Linked DNA regions of Homo sapiens: region 1 is linked to region 2. Evidence: promoter capture Hi-C in 16 types of primary human blood cells and fetal thymus (Javierre and others, 2016). All regions are on one chromosome and are shown on one strand. Each heading gives the region's core, a stretch centred on a gene start or on the middle of the fragment in contact. The rest is flanking DNA. Distances are from core to core; before and after follow the strand shown.

Region 1 (5,235 bases), core at 1,618-4,117, 190 kb before region 2:
AGACTCTCTAGCCTGCCTCTGCCTGAACCCTCTCTGGACCTCAGTTTCCCTAGCTGTCTGTCCCGTGAGTCCATTGGCTCTGGGACTCCTTCAGTTTTTGTTTTGAGACAGAGTCTTGCTCTGTCACCCAGGCTGGAGTGCAGTGGCGTGATCACTGTCACTGCAGCTCAAACTCCAGGGCTCAAGCGACCCTCCCACCTCAGCCTCCTGAGTAGCTGAGACTACAGGTGTGCACCACCATGCCTGGCTAATTTATTTTATTTTTATTTTTGTAGAGATAGGGTCTCCCTGTGTTGCCCGGGCTTGTCTCAAACACCTGACCTCAAGTGAGCCTCCCGCCTCGGCCTCCCAAAGTGCTGGGATTACAGGCGTGAGACACCACGCCCAGCCTCCTTCCAGTTTTGACCTTCTGATCCACTTCAGCTGTTCTTGACCATGGTGTCCTTCCCACTGACTTGTCACATTAGCTGTGAGCTGCCTGTGTCACACGCGATGAAGCTGACTACTGCATAGGACAGCTTATGTGCATCACGTCACATCTTCTCAGCCTCTTCTCTCTTAGTACAGCCACTACCCTGGGGTCCGTTCTGCACAAGTTTCAACCAGCTCTGCCCAAGCGTGAGCTGACAGCACCTCCCCTCCCCCAGTCTCCACCTCTATCTTCCTGCCCTGGGAATCACTCCACATTCACCCAGAAGAATTGTTGCCTGTGGGACAGCCTTGACCAATGGGAGATTGAAGCTGATGAGTAAATATTTCCCCCTTTGGCCCCTGAGGGACAGTTCTGAGATGCTTGACACAGGCCCTTCAGCGCTGGTGGCCAACTCAGCAGTGCATCCTTGATCTGGCTTTTGCTTCTTCCTTTGTTCCGCCCCTGCCCCTCACTCCTGCTCTCTGGGATTGAATTCCTAAGACAGCTCCCTGCTTGGGGTCTTTGTCTCAGGCTCTGCTTTAGGGGGAATCCAGGCTAAGACAGTTTCCAAGCACCCATGATTGCAAATAATCCACTGTTTTGATAAATTCGGCCAATTTTTTTTTTTTGGTGTGCAAATAAAGTTCTCATTCCCTTGCCTTCAGAGATGATTTCTTGAGGGGTGAGAAGGGGTGTGGAATAGGGACACTCCAAAGAGCCTTTTGCAGCCGTCGGGAGAAGGCCAGGAACCAGGGGACCTGTTGGAGGCTGGGAGGTCAGTGAGGGGCCTGTGCTGGGTGGGCTGGGGTGTCTGTGGGAACTCATCACATTGGTGTAGGGGGTAACTGCTATTGGGGGTGTCTTGTGCCTGAAGAACTGAGTTATTCTCTGAGCAAAGCTCTAGATGTAAAGAAACTGACCCAGATCCTCCACGGACTTCAATTCCAGGCTCCTGCCAAATCAGTGGGGAACGGGAAACCAAGTAATAGAGGCCCCTAGACTGCAGAATATCCGCTCTGAGCACTCAGTCAGGAGGACAGGGATCCTGCCGAGCTGAGGTCCTAGAGGAGAGGCAGTGTTTCGGGGGGATGAGGAGGTCATACTCCACGGAATGGCTAAAAAATAGCAGCATCCTTGGCCTGCAGAGACCGGGGAGGCAGAGGCGGGGTGGGTGCTGGGCCTGCTGGGCAGACCTCAGTCAGGCTATGCTGGTCCGAGGGAATGCATATAGTCTCTGACCTCGAACGGGGCCAGGCTCTAGGGACAGGCCACAGAGAAGCACCTGGACTCATAGGAAGAAGGGTCTTTCTCACAGGTTGAACCATGCCACAGGAGTAGGGGCTGCCTTGGAGGTATAAGCCTCCAGTCCCAGGGGATGTACAAGCCACAGCTGGACAGCCAAATGCAGGGCAGGCAGAGTGGGCCCCAGCAGCACAGTGTGGTGCCCCAGCCGCCCCTCAACACCAGCCTGCTCCTGTTGCTGAGCTGTGGTCGGGAGGACTGCAGAAGACTGAAGGAATCTTCGAACCAGGACAGCTCCAATGCTGGACTCCTTCACCCTCCGATATCTACCCAACCCACAACAGGATCTCCGCCCTGTACCTCCCCACTCTCAGCAACCAGATCTTGGGGGCTTCTGCTGTGCACAACTCTAAGATCCAGGCAGCATCCTATGGGCTTTTCAGGGCTGTGGGCTGGCGTGAGGCCCTCCTCTCTGGCCTCAATGCTCACACTCCTTATGATCTGCCTCCTCTCCCATCAAACAATGTCCCTCCTTTGTGAATCTCCAAATCCAGGTGGCCATCCAATGCCCTGGGAATCCTTCTCCGAGGCCCCAGCCCTCAGCCATCTCAGTCCGGGGTTCTTCACGGGCTCTTTCTATGCTCCTCCTGTCGGGTCCTGGAGTGGAGATGGACAAAGCCACTCTGAGAGGAAGGAGGGGGAGCCTCAGGATTAGATGCACTCGGGTGACAGACTAGCGGGGTCTCTAGATGCTGAAGGGAGGTGACCCAGCCCCATGACCTAGCTCCAGGACATGTAACTAGAAAGGGGCTCTGGGGAGCAGGGCAGAGCAGGCTGGGCTCCGGGCCCAGGGCTGTTGAAATTTCCATGACCACCAGATTAAGGCCACCTGGGTGAGGCTACTCCTACAGGAGGAGCCAAAGGGACCCAGTTGTGGGAGGGGCTGGAGGTAGAGATTCAGAAGGGGAATGGAGGGTCTTCAGCAAGACCTGCGGGGAGGTGGGCTGTTTCCCTCTGCGCTGTGCCTCTCTCCAGGGGCCAAGGGGCCTGGTGGCTAATGGGCCTCCCCACTCGGGACCCACTTTGACCTGCGCTTCCTGGCTGAACCTGGGCCTCTGGAATTCTCTGTCTGTTCTCTGGTCCCCTCTTATCCTTGTCCCTAAGCCAGGAGCATGCCCCGAGGTTGGGTTCTAACCTGGGCTCAGCCACTTGTAAGAAAAGTAACTTTAGCTATTGAAACTCTGTTTTCTTATCTGTATTTTTAAAAATTTTAGTTTTTATTTATTTTGTAGAGACAGGGTCTCACTGTGTTGCCCAGGCTGGTCTTGGACTTCTGGCCTAAAGCGATCCTCCCACCTTGACTTTCCAAAGTGCTAGGGTTACAGGTGTGAGCCACGTGCCCAGCCTCACCTGTAAAATGAAGACAATTTCTTCTTGGGTCTGTTACGAAGATTAATAAGACAAGGACTCAGCAGCACTTAGCGCAGTGCTTGGCTTACAGAGAGTGCTTGATAAACGGGAGCGAATAGTGATAGGATCATTGCTTCCTGTTTTGAGTCTTTCATTCTGCTGAAAGGTAAGGTCTCAGGGAAGGACATGGCTGACCTAAGATCCCCAAGAGGGCCAGGGCAGAGTGGGGATGTGAGCCTAGTCCCCAGATGCCCACTCCCATCCACAGCCTTCTGTGTCTCTAGTACTGTGCTCTGGCTTTCCGTGAGTGGCCAGCTATGGCTTCCTGGCTGCTGGCACTCCTTCCATCCTTTCTGCCACTCTTCCTGCTCTGTGTCTGCATTTTAAAGGGGGCTTTAGGCTGGCTCAGTGGCTCATGTCTGTAATCCCAGAACTTTGGGAGACTGAGGCAGAAGGATTGCTTGAGGTCAGGAGTTCAACACCAGCCTGGGCAACATAGCAAGACCCTGTCTCTATAAAAAATAAGAAAATTAGCCAGGCATGGTGGTATGCACCTGTGGTCCCAGCTATTTGGGAGGCTGAGGCAGGAGTTTGAGGCTGCTGTGAGCCATGATTTTGCCACTGCTCTCCAGCCTGGGTGACAAGGCAAGATCCTGTTTCTAAAAAAATAAAAAAGGAGGGGGGTCATCAGTGTTTTCACCAGGGCCAGGCTCAGGCTCTGTGGGAGAACAGGGGCTGAGGACTCTCCCCCTGACCCCTAGAAGCCCTGCCACGAGGGTGGGGAGGACCTACGACTAGGCAGTCAGAGCCCTCTGCAGCACTCAGGGGCTTGGCCACAAGAGGGAGGGAAAGGGCTTGGCAGAGTAGTCAGGAGACCTAGGTTCCAGCCTTACCTCCACCACCTATGTGCTGTGTGCTTACAGCACATCACTGCTCTCTCTGGGACCCAATTTCCTTGATCACACATACATGCGACCCTCTGCAGTGGCCAGGGTCTCACTCAGCCCAGAAGGGTACTGAGCTCTGGCCAGACAGGGCACAATTCTTTCCTCTCAGAAAACGACAGCTTCTTGGGCCGGGCCTCTGGGGACAGGGGTTCCTGCTCTCTAGGAGCTGCCTGTAAAGGTCCCTTGTCAATTAATTTGGCAGCTCAGTGTTCAGGGGCAAGTGCTCTTTGAGAGGCCTAATGTATCCCCATCAGAAATGACTTATGGGATTCTCCGTGGGGCTGTGATCATGCCCTGCCCCCCGCCATGCCCCCTCAAGGCTTGCTTTGTCATCCAGTCCCTGTGTTTGCATGTGTCATTGCCCAGCCACCCCCTGGTCAGAGGGTGGCCACGGGAGACTCATTGGAGGCACATTATCGGACACTGGTTGTGAGGGATGATGGAGGGGCAGGCCCATCTGCACACACATTAAGCCCTTTGTCTCTGGACTCAGTGGGAAGATGAATGAGGCCTGTCGCTAGGCCTCTGCTGCCTGGGGGACAAAAGGGGCCTGGAACAGGCCTTGGGATGGGTGTTGGGTGGAAAGCAGCCTGTGCGCATCTCTTCAGACAGAACCAGATCTAACAGGCTTAACCAGAGACAGCTGAGAGGAGGCAGGCGGTCAGGAAGGAGTCCCAGAAAGCCCCGGGAGTCAGGCGGGGTTTCTGCTTGACGGAGCCCGGTGTTTCCCCTATAAAAGCTGATGCTTGGTCTTAGGGGCTGGGGCTCCATTTGCATTGTGTAAATACAGGCTGGCAGCGCTCTCAGATGAGCTGATTCAAACTCCTCACTCTACCGTGGGGAACCTCAGGCCTGAAAAAGCAAGGACTCACTCACCTAAGGTCGTTTCAGGAATCAGCAGCGGGGGCAGGACAAGAACCGATGTGATAAAATTCCATAGCCACCACCGCCCTATTTGGTGCAGATCCAACTAAACACACCCTCAATGACTCTGAGACAAGGTACAGTTTCCTGAGGGCAAGAGAAGGGCGAAACGGGACTTTTGCTCATTCCTGGACTTTTAGGGGTTGACAGATTGGCTCTAAAGTTTATATGGATGAATAAATATACAAGGATAACCGGGAGGCCTCTGGGTATAGGAGGCTTTGTTGCTTCAGAGGGTCAGGCAGGGCTGGCAGCACAACAGAGCTGTGAAGTGCAGGGCCAGCAATGGCAGGAGCTGTG
Region 2 (5,155 bases), core at 1,473-3,972:
AAAAATTAGCCGGACGTGGTGATGCGCACCTGTAGTCCCAGCTACTCGGGAGGCTGAGGTGGGTGGATCCCTTGACCCCAGGAGGCGGAGGTTGCAGTGGGCTGAGATCACGCCACTGCACTCCCGAGTGACAGAGTGAGACCCTGTCTCAAAAAATAAAAAGGCCTTAAAAGTGTTTATTCTCTTATACCTAGTAATATGATGCTGAGCAGTTTTAAACACATAAAGTGCACGAAAGATTTATGTATGAGGATATTATTATTTTTTTTTTTTTTTGAGACGGAGTCTCGCTCCGTCGCCCAGGATGGAGTGCAATGGCGCGATCTCGGCTCACTGTAAGCTCCGCCTCCTGGGTTCACACCATTCTGCTTCAGCCTCCCGAGTAGCTGGGACTCTAGGTGCCCGCCACCATGCCCGGCTAATTTTTTTGTATTCTTAGTACAGACGGGGTTTCACCGTGTTAGCCAGGATGGTCTCGATCTCCTGACCTTGTGATCCGCCTGCCTCGGCCTCCCAAAGTGCTGGGATTACAGGCGTGAGCCACCGCGCCCGGCCGAGGATATTCTTTAAAACAAGGAAATGGTCACTTAAAGTGAAAAAGGCAATTTACAAAGTACATTTTTTTTTTTCTTTTTTGAGACAGTATTGCTCTGTCATGCAGGCTGGAGTGCAGTGGTGCGATCTCGGCTCACTGCAAACTCCATCTCCCAGGTTCAAGCGATTCTCCTACCTCAGCCTCCTAGGAGCTGGGATTACAGGCGCTAGCCACCACGCACGGCTAATTTTTGTCTTTTTAGTAGAGATGGGGTTTCACCATGTTATCCAGGCGGGTCTCAAACTCCTGAACTCAAGTAAGCCACCTCCATCGGCCTCCCCAAATGCTCGGATTACAGGCGTGAGCCACCACACCCTACCAAATACTATATTTCAGAAGAATTCAGGGAGTGGAAATGCACATACCAAAGAGGGCAGTTGTGGATCCAATAGCCCTGCCTCCAATTCTCACAATTTCCAGATTCAATCTTAATTCCCATTCCCTCATCCCAAGAGAAGTAGAGAAAGACCAGTAGAGCTGGAATAATGACAGGTGGAAATAACTCAGAAGCCACTCAAGGCAAAAAGCATGCAGAGGGGCCTAAGGGAGCCAATAGGATTCCAATTCTGGTTACAGAAAAATCCAAGTCAAAATCACTCTTTGACAATCTAAAGGAATGAGATATTAATTATGTTCCCCTGGGGTTGTGAAAAACAGCCCTGCCTTTTGGAGATTAGAAGTGAAGCAGGTAAGAACCATATCTAAAGCAGGAGAAGAAGCTTCCCTCAGTAGGTGGTTGATAGGGGTCTGGGAATCATCCAAGTTAATCAGGGTGACTATAGATAATCCGAGTGTGTTATATCCTGACAGAAAACAAAGGGTGGATGTGCATTGGCAAAAACAAAATAAGAAACCAATTTGCAGGCATGAGTGGACCAGTACCCAGGACTCTCTTCCAGTAGCCTACAGTAGATAGAGGGCTCTGACTTATCGGAGAAGTCCTGCTTGGCTGGAGAAGGGCATCAAGCTGTTTATCAGCGCCTCATGCCCTTAACAGTTAAGACCATCCAACTAACCTGGCTGTTACTCCATGAATCTCGTGCAGCTTTCTGAAAATCATGGGGTCTCTGCGGACTTTCCTGCAGAAAGAGAGCCCACTGATTCCACTACCTAGATAAAGGCGTGGTGGTGGGCCCCTGTAATCCCAACTACTCGGTGTAAGAATTAAAGAAAGAGGAAAGAAACACGAAAAGTGGCTTGGTGGTCATAAGAGGTTTATTTTAGAGAAAACCTGAGAGGGGCGTCTGGCCAAGTTAGGTCAGAGGCACACTCTCTTACAGACTAAGTAAGTTTTTAAGGATTCGGAGTGGGAGAGTTTATCAGAGGCTTGGACTGCTTCTGTGTCTCTTTGTTGTGCTTATCTCGGAGGGAGAGTTGTGTGTCTGTTCCCATACATCTTTCTGCAGCTGCAGACATACCCCCTGAGTCTAATTTTTGTATTTTTAGTAGAGAGGGGTTTCACCATGTTGGCCAGGCTGGTCTCGAACTCCTGACCTCAGGTGATCCTCCCGCCTCGGTCTCCCAAATTTCTGGGATTACAGGCGTGAGCCATCTGCGCCCTGCCTAAACTGTTCGGGTTCTAACATTCCAGCATCCTCCTGCGGAACGCAGCCAGGCCTTACTCAGGCCTTCCAATCAGGACCCTTACAGTTCCTGGGGCTGGGATTGCGAGTCTCTCTGGGGCCACGCTTTCTAAGCGTATCACTTCCAGGATACGTGCCTCCAACAGAAGGAATGAAGGCTAGGAAACAAAAACGTGGATGCGGGTGAGGAGCTGTCAGTGTTACCGCCACGACAACGTGGACCCTGCGAAACTCGGAGGTGCCACTCAAGAGCCGAAAGCCTGCCCACTCGGGGTGGGGCGGCAACCCGGAGAGCCAATCAGGAATAAGGAGTCCGGTTCATGAAAAGGTAGCCGGATTCTGACTGGGATACTCACTGTGAGAAGGCTGGGCGGAGTTGCAGAAAGTCAACAGAAGCCGAATCTCTGAATTTCTGTTCGCAGCCTCCTAGGCGGGGCCGGGAAAAAAATCCAGTAGTCTGCGCTGACTGGGCGGCGAGGGACCGGGAGGAGCCAATCAGAAGTCAGGACTCGCGGGGCTTGGAGGAGGGGCGCGGGCGCTGCGGCCCCTGCTCTACCTCCTAGCGCCGGTGCGCGGCCGAGGCCGCACTACCTGTCTGCGGGAAAGCGGGATCCACCCCAGGACGTCGGGTCGCTGCCGGTGAGCCAAGGAGGGGGAAGCAGAGACGAGCCCTGCGTCCCCGCTGCGGGAGTCGGGGTCGCCCCCGAGGGCAGGGAGGCTCGCTGCAAGTGTGGAGCCGGGAGTCCTATGCCTCAGGCTCCTCCAGCCCGCGCTATCCTCAGCTCGCTGCGTGCGTGATGGGCAAGTCACCCTTCTTCCCGGACCTCACCTGTAACCTAGGAGGGCTGAGCTGGGCCCCCAGAATGAAAGCGTGGCACCCGAGAAGCTGTCGAGGCCAGCCCTCCCGGGTCTGTGTGGGGTCGCTGGCCGAGGGCTGTGCCGGCGCCTGGCCGGTGTCTACTGGGAGCAGTCTCTGAGCTCCGCTGAACCTCACTTACTCATGCGCCCTCCTCCTCTCTTTTCCTGCCTCTTGGTTCAGCAGCCCCTCTGCAGCCCGCTCACCCACCACTTTTTCCCCTTCACCCACCAGGAAGACCCTTAAAAGCACCTAGTAATGCACTGTTGTCTTTGAAAAACTGCAGATGCTAGATTCCCCACCTTTCTGTTTCATGATCCCCTTGGGGTTGAACTGCCCCGTGAGTCTGTGGAATGAAGGTCACCCTTGGTTCACCATTTAATATTAAATAAGGGACTAGCCTAGGGGCTGAGAATACAGAGATTGACTGGGTATAATCCCTTGGAAGGACGCAGCAAAAGGGAATGTAGGAGAAGAAAGGTAGAGTTGGAAGACATGCTAAGGTAGAATTTACTAGACTTTGTTACACGTTGGGAGTGAGGGACAGGAAAGAATCAAGAATGACTCCTGTTTCTTGTCTGGTATACTTTGCACAAAGTACAGAGCTTAAGTTCCAGCCCCCTCCCGGCTGCAGGACAAAGGTGGTGAGATTCTGACGCAGATCTTGGAGTTGGAAATCACACTTGCTTCCTGCGGGCTTTTTCAGGAGCTAAATACTGTTGGCCGGATATATAGACCAACAGCCTATAGTACCTGAATTCCTCCTCTCCCTTTCAATGAAGTAGGAAAAAAAGTTAATAATTTTTAAAAATGTGTGAGTGGGCAACATAGCGAGACACTGTCTCTAAAAAAATAAAAATAATAAAATCAAAAAGACAGCCATGATGGCTTGCACCTGTAATCCCAGCACTTTGGGAGACCAAGGTAGGAGGATTGCTTGAGCCCAGAAGTTCGAGACCAGCCTGGGCAACATAGTGGGACCCTCTCTCTCCAAAAAAAAAAAAAAAAAAAAGGCCAGGCATGGTGGCACCTGCCTGCAGTCCCAGCTATTTGGGAAGCTCAGGTGGGAGGATCCCTTGAGCCCAGGAGTTGGAAGCTGCAGTAAGCAGTGATTGTGCCACTGTACTCCAGACTGGGTGACAGAGACCTTGTCTCAAAAACAAAAAAAAAAAAATTCCCCTCCATACAAAGGAGACATTTGGTTAAGACAGACATGTCTGATAAACATATTTTTTTCTTTGTTTTTATTTACTCTCAAGAGTTGACTTGATCTGTGCCATTAGTTCTATGATATGGAGCGCTTATATAAAGAAAAAAGGCGAACTTAAAGAACTTTAGTGGCATGGAATACTAGAGCTAGAGGAGACTTTTAGTAATAATCTAATCCAACTCTGTTTTAGAGGAGACATGACTAGTCCAGAGTTTCAGAGGTTAGGTAGCAGAACTGGGACTAAAATATGTCCTATTTCTCCCAGCACAGCCTTTTATTACATCAGTCTATTTGGATGGCCAGAGCTAACAACCTTGCTTTACATGGCTATGGAAAACAGCGCTCTCCTAAGAGGAGCTTAACAAGTCAAAGATTGTATGGGAACATCTGGAATAGAAAGGAGATTGGCCTTCACCAGTTGCCTCTAAGGTTCCTTACAACTTTAAGAACTTATCATTCATTTCAAATTCAGAATTGTTCTGACATCGTTAACGCTTTGGGAGTTGAAAATGACTCCAGGATTTCATCTTGGAGTTAATGCTTCAGTCCATATTGCATTTTGAATACTTACCTTATACCAGTTTACATATCTCCAGAAAGAATGTTAAAATTCCTTGTAAAGTTTTAAGCCTAAATACAGTGTGACAGGATATGTTGGTTCCCAGAAGTTTCAAGTGCAAAGATTGTTTTGAAACTCCATTTAGGCTTTGTCACAGTACCTTCAGTGAACAAAATCTGAACGGCTTAACTTGCTTCTGAAAGCAAATGCCTGGTTAGAAAGTAAACAGGAAACATGATTGTCAAGAAGGCATTAACTTGCAGTAACAGGTGATGGAAACCGATCAGTGGCACAAGCTATGCAAGTTAAGAGGCTGGAGCAATCACTTTGGGTAGGAGGATCAGGGAAGGCC

The links. The method cuts DNA at HindIII sites, captures the fragments that hold promoters and counts their contacts. A CHiCAGO score of 5 or more calls a contact.
Region 1: a contact is called between a fragment that was not itself captured here and the fragment with the promoter of HYKK in region 2, in 3 of 17 cell types (megakaryocytes, M2 macrophages and M0 macrophages). The highest score is 7.5, in megakaryocytes.

Annotation. Positions count from the first base shown.
Region 1 is chr15:78,311,956-78,317,190 of GRCh38, forward strand. No RefSeq gene overlaps it. Among named protein-coding and RNA genes, the nearest start is that of SKIC8, 15 kb to the left of the region's middle. RefSeq lists an enhancer at 3,793-3,842 and a silencer at 4,712-4,821. The HindIII fragment of the contact is 6,688 bases long and covers 1-5,235 here.
Region 2 is chr15:78,504,855-78,510,009 of GRCh38, forward strand. It overlaps HYKK (hydroxylysine kinase), which reads left to right and starts at 2,723. Exons shown (of 5, transcript NM_001013619.4): 1 at 2,723-2,817. The HindIII fragment of the contact is 14,973 bases long and covers 1,313-5,155 here.